3 separate regions of the Homo sapiens genome follow, and all the other regions are linked to region 2. The links are contacts of gene promoters, found by promoter capture Hi-C in blood cells and fetal thymus (Javierre and others, 2016). All regions are on one chromosome and are shown on one strand. The core of a region is centred on a gene start or on the middle of the fragment in contact, and the rest is flanking DNA. Distances in the headings are between cores, read along the strand shown. Region 1 holds the start of BAZ2A (bromodomain adjacent to zinc finger domain 2A). Region 2 holds the start of AGAP2 (ArfGAP with GTPase domain, ankyrin repeat and PH domain 2). Region 3 overlaps PAN2 (poly(A) specific ribonuclease subunit PAN2).

Evidence for each region. Contacts are between HindIII fragments. The CHiCAGO score rates a contact against its expected background, and 5 or more counts as called.
Region 1: the fragment with the promoter of BAZ2A here is called in contact with the fragment with the promoter of AGAP2 in region 2 in 1 of 17 cell types (total CD4 T cells); the score reaches 5.3 in total CD4 T cells.
Region 3: a contact is called between a fragment that was not itself captured here and the fragment with the promoter of AGAP2 in region 2, in 1 of 17 cell types (monocytes). The highest score is 5.5, in monocytes.

The regions. Positions count from the first base shown.
Region 1 is chr12:56,628,530-56,631,700 of GRCh38, forward strand. It overlaps BAZ2A (bromodomain adjacent to zinc finger domain 2A), which reads right to left and starts at 1,797. Exons shown (of 29, transcript NM_001300905.2): 1 at 1,596-1,797. RefSeq lists a silencer at 1,384-1,733 and enhancers at 1,954-2,003, 2,034-2,103. The HindIII fragment of the contact is 7,835 bases long and covers 554-3,171 here.
Region 2 is chr12:57,737,124-57,740,594 of GRCh38, forward strand. AGAP2 (ArfGAP with GTPase domain, ankyrin repeat and PH domain 2) reads right to left here and starts at 1,619. Exons shown (of 19, transcript NM_001122772.3): 1 at 1-1,619. The coding sequence starts at 1,123. RefSeq lists a silencer at 772-991. The HindIII fragment of the contact is 3,748 bases long and covers 1-3,471 here.
Region 3 is chr12:56,321,130-56,324,419 of GRCh38, forward strand. It overlaps PAN2 (poly(A) specific ribonuclease subunit PAN2), which reads right to left. Exons shown (of 26, transcript NM_014871.6): 12 at 3,165-3,290; 13 at 2,920-3,056; 14 at 2,678-2,784; 15 at 2,371-2,469; 16 at 2,182-2,255; 17 at 1,933-2,080; 18 at 1,486-1,629; 19 at 1,294-1,353; 20 at 949-1,039. Among named protein-coding and RNA genes, the nearest start is that of CNPY2, 6.8 kb to the left of the region's middle. RefSeq lists a silencer at 82-282. The HindIII fragment of the contact is 6,373 bases long and covers 1-3,290 here.

The DNA of each region.
Region 1 (3,171 bases), core at 547-3,046, 1.1 Mb before region 2:
TCTCCAGCACCCCTTAGTCAAATAACAAGCTTCCCACAGGGGCTGCCCTTAGGCTAGAATCACCACCAAGGACTGAGTTCACCAATCTCAGTCTGTTAATCAGTCCCTACCCCCGACACACAAATCCATCTAATAGTTAAATCTTCCTCACCCCTTCCTCTTCGTCCATTTCTTAGAATCTACCCTTCTTCACAAGCTCACTTGCTCAGGTGCTCTGCAATATAGAAACTGTCATAATAACTATACTAAAGTAGGACCCCAAGAAGCTACTCGTGCCACAAAAGCTCTCTAGTCTCCCTGACAGCTCTCTATGCTGAGGGAATTTGCATCACTTACATAGAGCGTACCCCGCTGGTAGATAACTGAGTTTGCTTCTCTATGACCTCTAGCTAAAGGGAAAACAAAACGAAACCAGACAGGAAGACAGAGATGTTCTGGAGAAGGGATTGGGATACGTGAGTCAACTGAAGTTGACTACTTCCAGTTGACAAGTTTACAAAAAAAAAAAAAGTCCAACGAAAGGTCTCTCGGGCCACATGGTTGGCAAGATCCAAGCTTGCCCAGAAGGCTTCAGAAAATGAAACCAAATCTGATTAAAATGGACATTTCAAAACAACAAGACACGCAGCAGCAAACGCACAGCTGCCATTTCCCGGCCACTTCCTGCGGGAGGCTGGGGGAGGGGCTGTTTGTGTACAGATAGAGGTGGAAAGCTATCCCCTCCGTCGTCCCCCAAAGCAGACAAATCTCTCACTCCAATTAACCCTACAAAGGACAACTGCTATTGACATTGCCTTCTCCTGAAAACTGGGAACACCGGGAAAGAAAGGGATGATGCGGTATCATCTTTCTGCCACGGAAGCGGGGATCCCCTCAGTGAGGAATCTCCTTGGAAAAAGGAATTCCTCTTTATTCTTCCCTTCTGCCCCTCAGCCCAGCTCAAATTGGAAAGCCTCAGCGGAAGCCCTATCAACCTCCATCCCCGGAGTGCGCGATTCTCCCGGGACGCGAGGGCCCCAAGCCAAGCGCAGCACCACCCTCAGCAAGGAAGGCCCTCTCCTGATCTTCACGCTCAAGAGAATGGGTGCGCTCCCCGAGGGAGACACCCTCAGACCCCTGGAAACCCCTTCCGCCCTCCACTCACCACAGTCAAAACGCCCAGCTCCCCGCAAACGGAGCGTTTTAACCCGCCAAGGGAACCCCCTCACCCACCCCTCGCGCTCAGGCAATCCCCACCCCCACCCGAGGAGGTGGAGCCCCTCCCGGGGATTCCACCCCAAGTCCCCCACAGGAGTCATCTCCACCAGCCAGGCGGCTTCTCCGCCTCCTCACTGTCGCCGGGAGCCCCTACAGCTCCTCCTGCCCCCGCGGCCCCGTCCGGGGTCCTCAGCAGCCCCACCAGCCCTGTTCTCCTCCCAGACCCCAGAGCAAGGAGACCCTCGCCTCGGGTTGGATCCTCGCAGGAAATAAGCTCCCGTCGGCTTCCCGCCCCGGCAAGGCTCAAGCCGGCTCTGGAGCTTCTGTTCCCCGAGGGAAGCCTCGGATGAAAGCGGGGCTCCCTCCCCCTCAGGCCCCTGGCCACAGACCCCACAAACCTGAGGCAGCGGCGTCCAGCCGGGCTCGGGGCTCGTCTCTCCCCGGGGTACAAGCGGTTCACATGGCCGCGCTCCGGGCGCCAGAACGGGTGGAGACGCCCGCTGGGGAGGGGGTCTGGGGTCCGGGGTTCGGGAAGGGGGAGGGGGACGCGGCTCAACCGCGGGGCCCGAGAGGAGCCAACATGGCCGGCGGGGGAGGAGTGAGTCGGAGCCGGAGGGGGCGGAGAAGCCTCGGCCGGGAGAGAGTCTCCCCACGCGGCCTCCGCCACAGGGTCCTAAAGCCCGCCAGCCCATCTTTCCGACCCGGACCTGGGTCCTAGCGCCGCTGTGCCTCCTGCAACTCTGGCCACCTTGCCCACCTGGCAGCTCCCTCTGCACCCGCATCTCATGGAGGCAGTGGTCCTGCTTCACACAGGGCAAACTGAAAGGCATGCCACAGTCCCAAGGTTAACTTAAAAGACTAGACCAAACGTCTAGGCCCAAAGGCAGGTGCCACTTCTCTAACAGGCTGGTAGGGGTAAGAGTCAGGGGAATTTCGGGGGCAGTTATTTCCCAGGTAGGGTAATGGAAACGTGGAAATAGAAAGGTTAGTCACTCAGGTCGCGATTCAGTAAAGGGATGGGGAGAGGCAAGAGTCAGCCACCCACTCACCTCTGTCCCTTCAGTGCAGCCTGGTCCTGCCTGGATCACCACTTTCCTGGCGACATCTGCAGGGCCCTGGTCACCGGAAAGGAAAGATTCCTGTGCGTGGGGGAAAGAAGGTTCGGCTCTGGAACCAGACAGCAAAGACCTGAGTGTAGCCTAAATGCAGTCAGAGAAGTAAAGGATAAGCTGAAAACTAATCAGCAAAAAGATGCCACAAATGTCCACCCATTCTATGGTTCTGGGAATTTTTTTCTGACAGGGCTACATAACTGTGTGAAAACTCAGAAAAGTAAAATCTAGCAGAGGACTAGAGTTTGGCTGTCACCTAAAATGTCCACTGCAGGGCACCAGGATGAAGAACAGTGTCATATGATGTTAGAGCTTAGAGAATTTCTAGTTCAGGCCGGACGCGGTGGCTCACGGCTGTAATCCCAGCACTTTGGGAGGCCGAGGCAGGTGGATCATGATGTCAGGAGTTCAAGACCAGCCTGACCAACATGATGAAACCCGGTCTCTACTAAAAATACAAAAATTAGCTGGGTGTGGTGGCGTGCCCCTGTAATCTCAGCTACTCAGGAGGCCGAGGCAAGAGAATCGCTTGAACCTGGGAGGTGGAGGTTGCAGTGAACTGAGATCGCGCCATTGCACTCCAGCCTGGGTGACAGAGGGAGACTCTATCTCAAAAAAAAAAAAAAAAAAAAATTCTAGTTCAACCTTCTCTCCTTCATCAAATGAAGAAATTAAGACCCAAAGAGGTTCAATGACTTCTTCAATGTCAAACAGTGGATAAAATATGACAAGAAAGGAAACCAGGTTTCCTTTCCTTGCAACTCAACACTTTGCAGCCTTGAAGATAATTCCCATTTAATTCAATGCAATGCAGTTCTAGAAACAGTTGCCTAAACTGTGCAAAGCTCAGGCTGCTGAATAT
Region 2 (3,471 bases), core at 369-2,868:
TGCCAGAAGACAGGCTGGGGGGTCCGGGAAGGGGCCCGGAGCCAGGAGGCCCTCCTGTGCTCTTGGTGAAGATGCCGCTGATAAACTTGAGCATCTTGCGGTCACGAGTGGATGCTCGGCCCCCCTCCCGGCCCCGTTTCAGCCCCGGAGCTGGAGGCTCCAGAGTGATTGGAGGTGCAGGCCCGGGGGGCTGCGCGGAAGCAGCGGTGACAGCAGTGGCTGGACTCGGAGTTGGTGGGAGGGTTAGCGGAGGAGGAGAGCCGGCAGGCGGTCCCGGATGCAAGTCACTGTTGTCCAAGGTCTTACTCTTGCCTTTCCGAGGGGACAACTTCCCTCGGGCTCCAGCCCCAGCCCCGACCCCACCAGAGGTCGAAGCTGTAGAGCCCCCTCCCCCGGCGGCGGCGGCGGTGGCGGCGGCAGAGACCGAAGCTCCAGTCCCGGCGCTGCTCTTTGACCCCTTGACCCTGGGCTTGCCCTCGCTTTCGGGCCATGACAGGCGGCTACCCGCGCCCTTGCCCCCGCCGGCTTTGGCTCCACTCGTGGTCACGGTCTTGCAAGGCTTGGGAGCCGGCGGAGGAGGCGCCACCTTGAGCCTCCGGCTGCCGGTGCCAGGGTGCGGAGAGGATGAGCCAGGGATGCCGCCGCCCGCCCGGCCTTCGGGCTCCGGGCCGCCCCAGCTCGGGCTGCTGAGCAGGGGGCGCCGGGAGGAGGTGGGGGCGCCCCCAGGCTTGGGGTCGGGGCTCAGTCCCCCGGAGAGCGGGGGTCCCGGAGGGACGGCCCAGAGGGAGAGGCGGCGGCCGGGAGCGGGGGAGACTGGGCGGGCCGGACTGGCCGGAGCCGGGGACAGGGCTGGGGGCTCCGCGCCCCCGGTGCCCGCGCTGCTCGTGCTGATCCACAGCGCATCCTGCCGGTGGAAGAGACGTTCGTGCCGCTTCTTGCCCGGCTCCTCCGCGCCTCGGGGGCTGCCAGGATCCCCAGTCTCGGAGCCTCTGGCACCGGCGGCGCCGGCCGCGGCCGCAGACGGAGAAGGCGGCGGCGGAGGCACCGACTCGAGCTTAACCAGGGTCAGCGAGATGAGGTAGGTCGTTGTCCGGCGCTGAAGCGCGCCCGCGCCCCGGCTCATGGGGCCCGGAGACCCCCGAGCTGGGGAGGGGAGGGGACTCCCCCGGACTGCCTCAGGGGGGCCCGGCCATGGGGCCGCCCTGCTCGCTGCCCCCAGCCCCCGGACCCCGCTGAGCCCCCGGCCCGGCTCCGCTGTCGCCGCCGCCTCCGCCGCCTCCGCTTGCGCCCCCCTCCCATCACATGGGGCGCCCCCTCCCCATGCTCCCCGCCCTGCGCCCCCACCCTCTTGGAGCCCCGGGACCTTGGTGCTGCTCCAGGGAGGCGCGCCGGACCGTCCACCCCGGCCTGGGTGGGGGCGCTGAGATGGGTGGGGGAGGGCGGGGAGGACAGTAGTGGGGGCAAATGGGGGAGAGAGAGGAAAAGGGAGCAGAAAAGGGGACCGGAGGCTAGGGGAAACGAACCTGTGCGGGGGAGGCAGGGGCGGGGAATTGGGACTCAAGGGACAGGGGCCGCGGATGCGGTCGGAAAGAGGGTCTAGAGGAGGGTGGGAAGCTAGTGGGGCTGGCCGTGCGGGGGATTCGCAGGGGCGCGGGGAGGATGCTGGGGATGGAGATACAGGAGGCGGCGGGGGAGGAAAGAGGGAACGGGAGGTGGGTGGGAACCCACGGGTCTGGGGTCTGGGAGGGGAGGGGCGTGAGATCCGGGCGAAGAGTCCGGGGGCCTCGCCTGGGCTCGGCTTGGTCCGGATGCGCGCTGTGTCCGGGCGCTCCCCTCACATTGAGGAGGAGGCGGCCCCCAGGCCCCCCCACCCTATCTCCCCCCCACCTTTTCTCCACCAGCACCGATGTCTGCGAGGGCGGTGCAAAATCCAGGGCTGGATTTCTCTCCCAAATCCTGGGCTGGATTTCCTGGGACTTGGACTCACCTCCTCCAACAACCTAGCCCCCTCCTCTCGCGCACCAAGGTTAGGAAGCGCGATTGTGAGGTATGGCATTTAGGGATAAGGGTGAAAATCGATCTATTGGGTGGACAGGGGCCGCGGTAAACAGAGCAAACCCAGGGTCACTGCCAATTCTGGGGAAGATGAAGTGGGAAAGTGGGGGCCCTGAAATCCCTTCCCCCAGGATCTCTTGTCTCCCCCAGGTACCTGGACGGTTCCCGTTCTCATGACCCAGCTCCCTTTCCCACTCACACCACCACATTTAATACTTTGACGGGGCCAAGACTTGAGCTCGACTGTCCCAAAGTGAACTTGGAAAATGTTCCCCAGGGATGGGGACAAACATGGAACTTAGCAGGGTAGGAGAGAAGGGAGAGATCTGAGTGCTGGAGGAGCCCAGGCCACAGGGTAAGTCAAAGGCTCCAGCTCTAGGAGGAGGGAGAAGGATGTGTCTTAGACTGATACCCCCCCATGCCAAAATGCATCCAGTCTCCATAGCAACCGTAGCTCCAAGAGTGCCTCAGAAACAGCGGGCAGAAGCAGAGAGGAATCCGTGTGTATGGTGGGTAGGGGACCAACCGCGGGATGCTGAATTAGTGGAGGCACTGCCCTGACACCTGGCTACCCACAGGTGGAGGATTTCACTCCCCAAGTATAAGGACCCTTCAGTTGAGGCAGTGAGAGCCGGCCTCTTCAGGGTTCCCTTTCAGTCTCCTGAGGTTTGCTGAGTGGGATTCTTTCAGAAGATTAAAGAGGAGGCAGGCAGAGTGAATGGAAACCGTCTGCTCCGTGTCCCCCACCCCTCTAGGGGTCTTGGAGTTCAAGGCTCTCTATCCTCCAGCCAGGTGAGAATCCTGAAGTGGTTAGGCCAAAGTGGAAAAGAGGTTGAGACCCCTTGGGGGTGGGGTAAGATGGGCGAAGGAAGGTCTCTCTGCAGCCTTGGAGACCCCTTCCCGGGACTTGGGGAGTCACAGCAGTCCCCTGATTTGGCGTCCCACCCTCCTGACGCAGCTGAGACTATAATAAGTGCTGCCGTGGGCGGCTCTTGGAGGCAGGAGCCCGCAGCGTGCTTGGCCTGGTGGGGGGCTGAGGGTGGGGGGGCTGAGCCAGGATGCCAGGAGCCCTTTGTTCTCCCAGAGGCCTGTATCCAATCCCTCCAATGTTCTGTCCTGGGGCTCAGCAGTTTCTCCCTCCCTCCCTACAGAACCAAGATGACACCATCCCCAGGACAGGAGACCCTTCAGTAGTGTTTTTTGATGGAGAGGGTGAAGGAGAATTGTTGGCTCTGGCTTAAACTTCCCTCCTTTGATGGCCTCGGTTTTCCTTTATGTTCAATGGGAACAGAATACTAATTCTTAGAGAAGGAGTAAAACAAATCACTTATGAGGAGTGAAGCCTTCTCAGGGATTTCCACCTCCACCCCTCCTCACCCTCCTCCCTCTCCAGAGCTAAGCACAGCTTTTCTGCCT
Region 3 (3,290 bases), core at 191-2,690, 1.4 Mb before region 2:
CACTCACTGCAGCCTTGACCTCCTGGGCTCAAGTGATCCTCCCGCCTCAGCTTCTCCAATAGCTGGGACCACAAGTATATGCCACCACACTCAGCTAAATTTTTTTTTTTTTTTTTGAGACAGGGTTTCACTCTCGTCACCCAGGCTGGAGTGCAATGATGCAATCTTGACTCACTGAAATCTCTGACTCCCAGGCTGAAGTGATTCTCCTGCCTCAGCCTCCCAAGTAGCTGGGACAACAGGAGCACATCACCATACCCAGCTACTTTTTGTATTTTTTGTAGAGACAGGGTTTCACCATGTTGCCCAAACTGGTTTTGAACTCTTGAGCTCAAGTGATCTGCCCGCCTCAGCCTCCCAAAATGCTGGGATTACAGGCCATAAGCCACTGTGCCTGGCCTATACTAGGCTAATTAAAAAAAAAAAAAAAATTTTTTTAGGCTGGGTGTAGTTGCTCACGCCTGTAATCCCAGCACTTTGGGAGGCTGAGGCGGGCAGATCATGAGGTCAGGAGTTCGAGGCCAGCCTGACCAACATGGTGAAACCCTGTCTCTACTAAAAATACAAAAAAATTAGCCGGGTGTGGTGGTGGGCGTCTGTAATCCCAGCTACTCAGGAGGCTGAGGCAGGAGAATCGCTTGAACCCAGGAGGCAGAGGTTGCAGTGAGCCGAGATTGCGCAATTGCACTCCAGCCTGGGTGACAGAGCAAGACTGCATCTCAAAAAAAAAAAAAAAATTTTTTTTCAAAGAGATGGGATCTTGCTATGTTGCTCAGGCTGGATTTCGCACTTCTAAATTTAAGGTCTGATGAGCAGGAATCTCTTTAGTATCTCCAGAAATATTAACACTGGTTACCAATCCTAAGTACTTGCAAGCAATGTCCCAGATCTCACCCTGAAGCCCAATCTAAACTGTCCACACACTTGGGTCTACTATGTAGCACTTACTGTTCAGGTTGTATCTGGAATTGAGATTCCGTTTGACATAATAAAGGATTGCAGGTACTTTCCAATTCATGTCAAACTGCACAGCTTCATGCTATAGAAGAGAAAAAGCACTTATGGCTAATGTATATCACCCTTTTCCTTTTCCCCCACTTCAGACGGAGGCCAGGACTCAGGTGCTAGTTTTTGTTTTTTTTCAGGTGCTATTTTTAAGTGCTAATGGTTTTTATTCCTGAGGATTCCTTCCTCCCTCCCTGTTGAATCTGCCTGGCATTCTATAGAGCCCTAAAGATAAGGATGCTAGGAAAAGGGGAAATGAAAGAAGAAACAGAACATGTTGCAACTAACCTTATCAATAGGTTCAATAAGAAAGTCATTGAACAGATACCACTGCTGGTGAGTAACGCCCTATGGAAATACAAAGAAAGCCTGTGGCGATACAAATTGATGGCTGGACCACTCTGTCTCAGACTCAAGGACAGATCTGGGACTCACTGTGGCCATCCCAGGAGTGTTCCTGCCCTCTACAACCTCACTCACCTCCTTGCGCTGGTGGTAGGTCTCTCCAACTTTGATGTGAGCCACCAGGCTGCCCCCTGTGCGTGAGTCCAGGATGTGTACCACAGTAGCCATCAGGTCATACACATAGACACCATGCTCCTCCTCTGCCCTGGCTGGGCCCCACTGTGAGGGGGGTACCCAGGCTGCTAAGCTAAGTTTAAGGATGGGGAAGGGAGGGGAATGGGGACAGAGGACAGGGAGTTGGGGGTATGGGGGATGGGGGACCAGGGTGGGTTATCTCCATCCTAGCCCATCTAGGACCCCAACACTGAACTGAGTGACTATGGAAAATCCCCTAACAGGTAAATACTAGGCCTTATTCTCTTCCTTTTCCCTCTGCTAAGTTTCACCTTCCCCTGCCCTCCTTTACCTTCTGCCCCACCTTCTCTCCCTTATTCCCTTTCCTCTTCCCGGTTTTTCAACAACCTGCATCTCATCCCCATCAGTCCAATTGCAAACATCCAGCCCTTTGTTTTTGGTCATCTTCATGCGAATGGAGAAAGGAAGCCAGACGTTCTTCAACTCCTCAATGGAGGGACACACCAGCACACCCTCTGGACTCCCTAGTTCCTTCCTATCAGGTCAGAAGAATTGGAAATTTGTTCCGAAAGAGGTCTTGATAAGAGGAACCACTGGGCAATTCAATCCTTTGACAACTCCCAAGACAGCACCTACCAATCAGCCAAAGCAAATTCCTTGTTCTTGGAGATTTCCCCACCGTGTTTCTTTACTGCCATCTTGAAGGCAACCTGAACACAGAAGAAAAACATCCAGTTCTTCAGGAATGTAATCATATATGGAGGTCAGAAGGGGGATAAAATGAAAAATTATTCCGGAAGCCTTGTTTCTAGTCTGAGTCCTTACCTCAGCCTGCATTCTCCAGAAATCAGCCTCTTTTGAGCTGTTCACCTCACAATTGATGACAAGAATATCTGGCAGATGGCGGATGTTGCGGGTCTGAATCTGAGAGGAAGAAACAAACAAGGAATGGCAGGGAATGTACAGGAAAAGGAGTCTGGACAGGGACCTGGGTCTGCGTCTTCAAACTGGGATTCCTCACTCCACCAGAGATCCCTGGATGGCAGTGCTGACAGAGCCAGCCCCACATGGGATAGTGGCTGAATCTCCATGGCAGGACCAGGACTCTAGTCCAGTCCAACAGTCCACTCACCGTGGGCTGGTACTTTTCACAGGTGTCACACCAGGCCTGTGTATTCTGGTCCAGGCAGATGCTTCGCTTCAGCACCTGAGCAAAGTCATAGTTCTTCCCAGTTTTATCTGAGGGAAAATTAGATGCTATACTCCTGGTTCTCCCCTCTACCCACAGTTAGTCCCCAACACCCTCTCCCTGATATTACAGGACATTTTGGGGAGCCTTCCCAACTGAGCTGAAGGGTATACCACTTTTGCTACCATCAGGGTAGGAGAGTGTGAAAAGCAGAGTGGATGAGGCTCGCACGGTCTCACTGCCACAGCGGCAGAGGCTGCAGTTCTCCATCTCACAGCTGAAGAGCTGCCCAATAACAGAGTCCCCCGATGAGCAAAAGCTGCTAAGAGTGGAGAGGATGATATATGCACATTGAGGAAGTTAGGAGACCTTTTAAATCACAGAGGGGCCTGTCATGATGGCTTTAACTATTTCTATCCTGATTTCATACCTGCCTCCAGCACCTCGATAAGCCTGTGGTATTTCCAGCTCCTGCATATCTTGATGCAGTTGAGTGAGAATGAAGCGATTCCACCTCTGAATGAGCCTGGCCAGATTGCCCTTGCCTGAGGCCTCA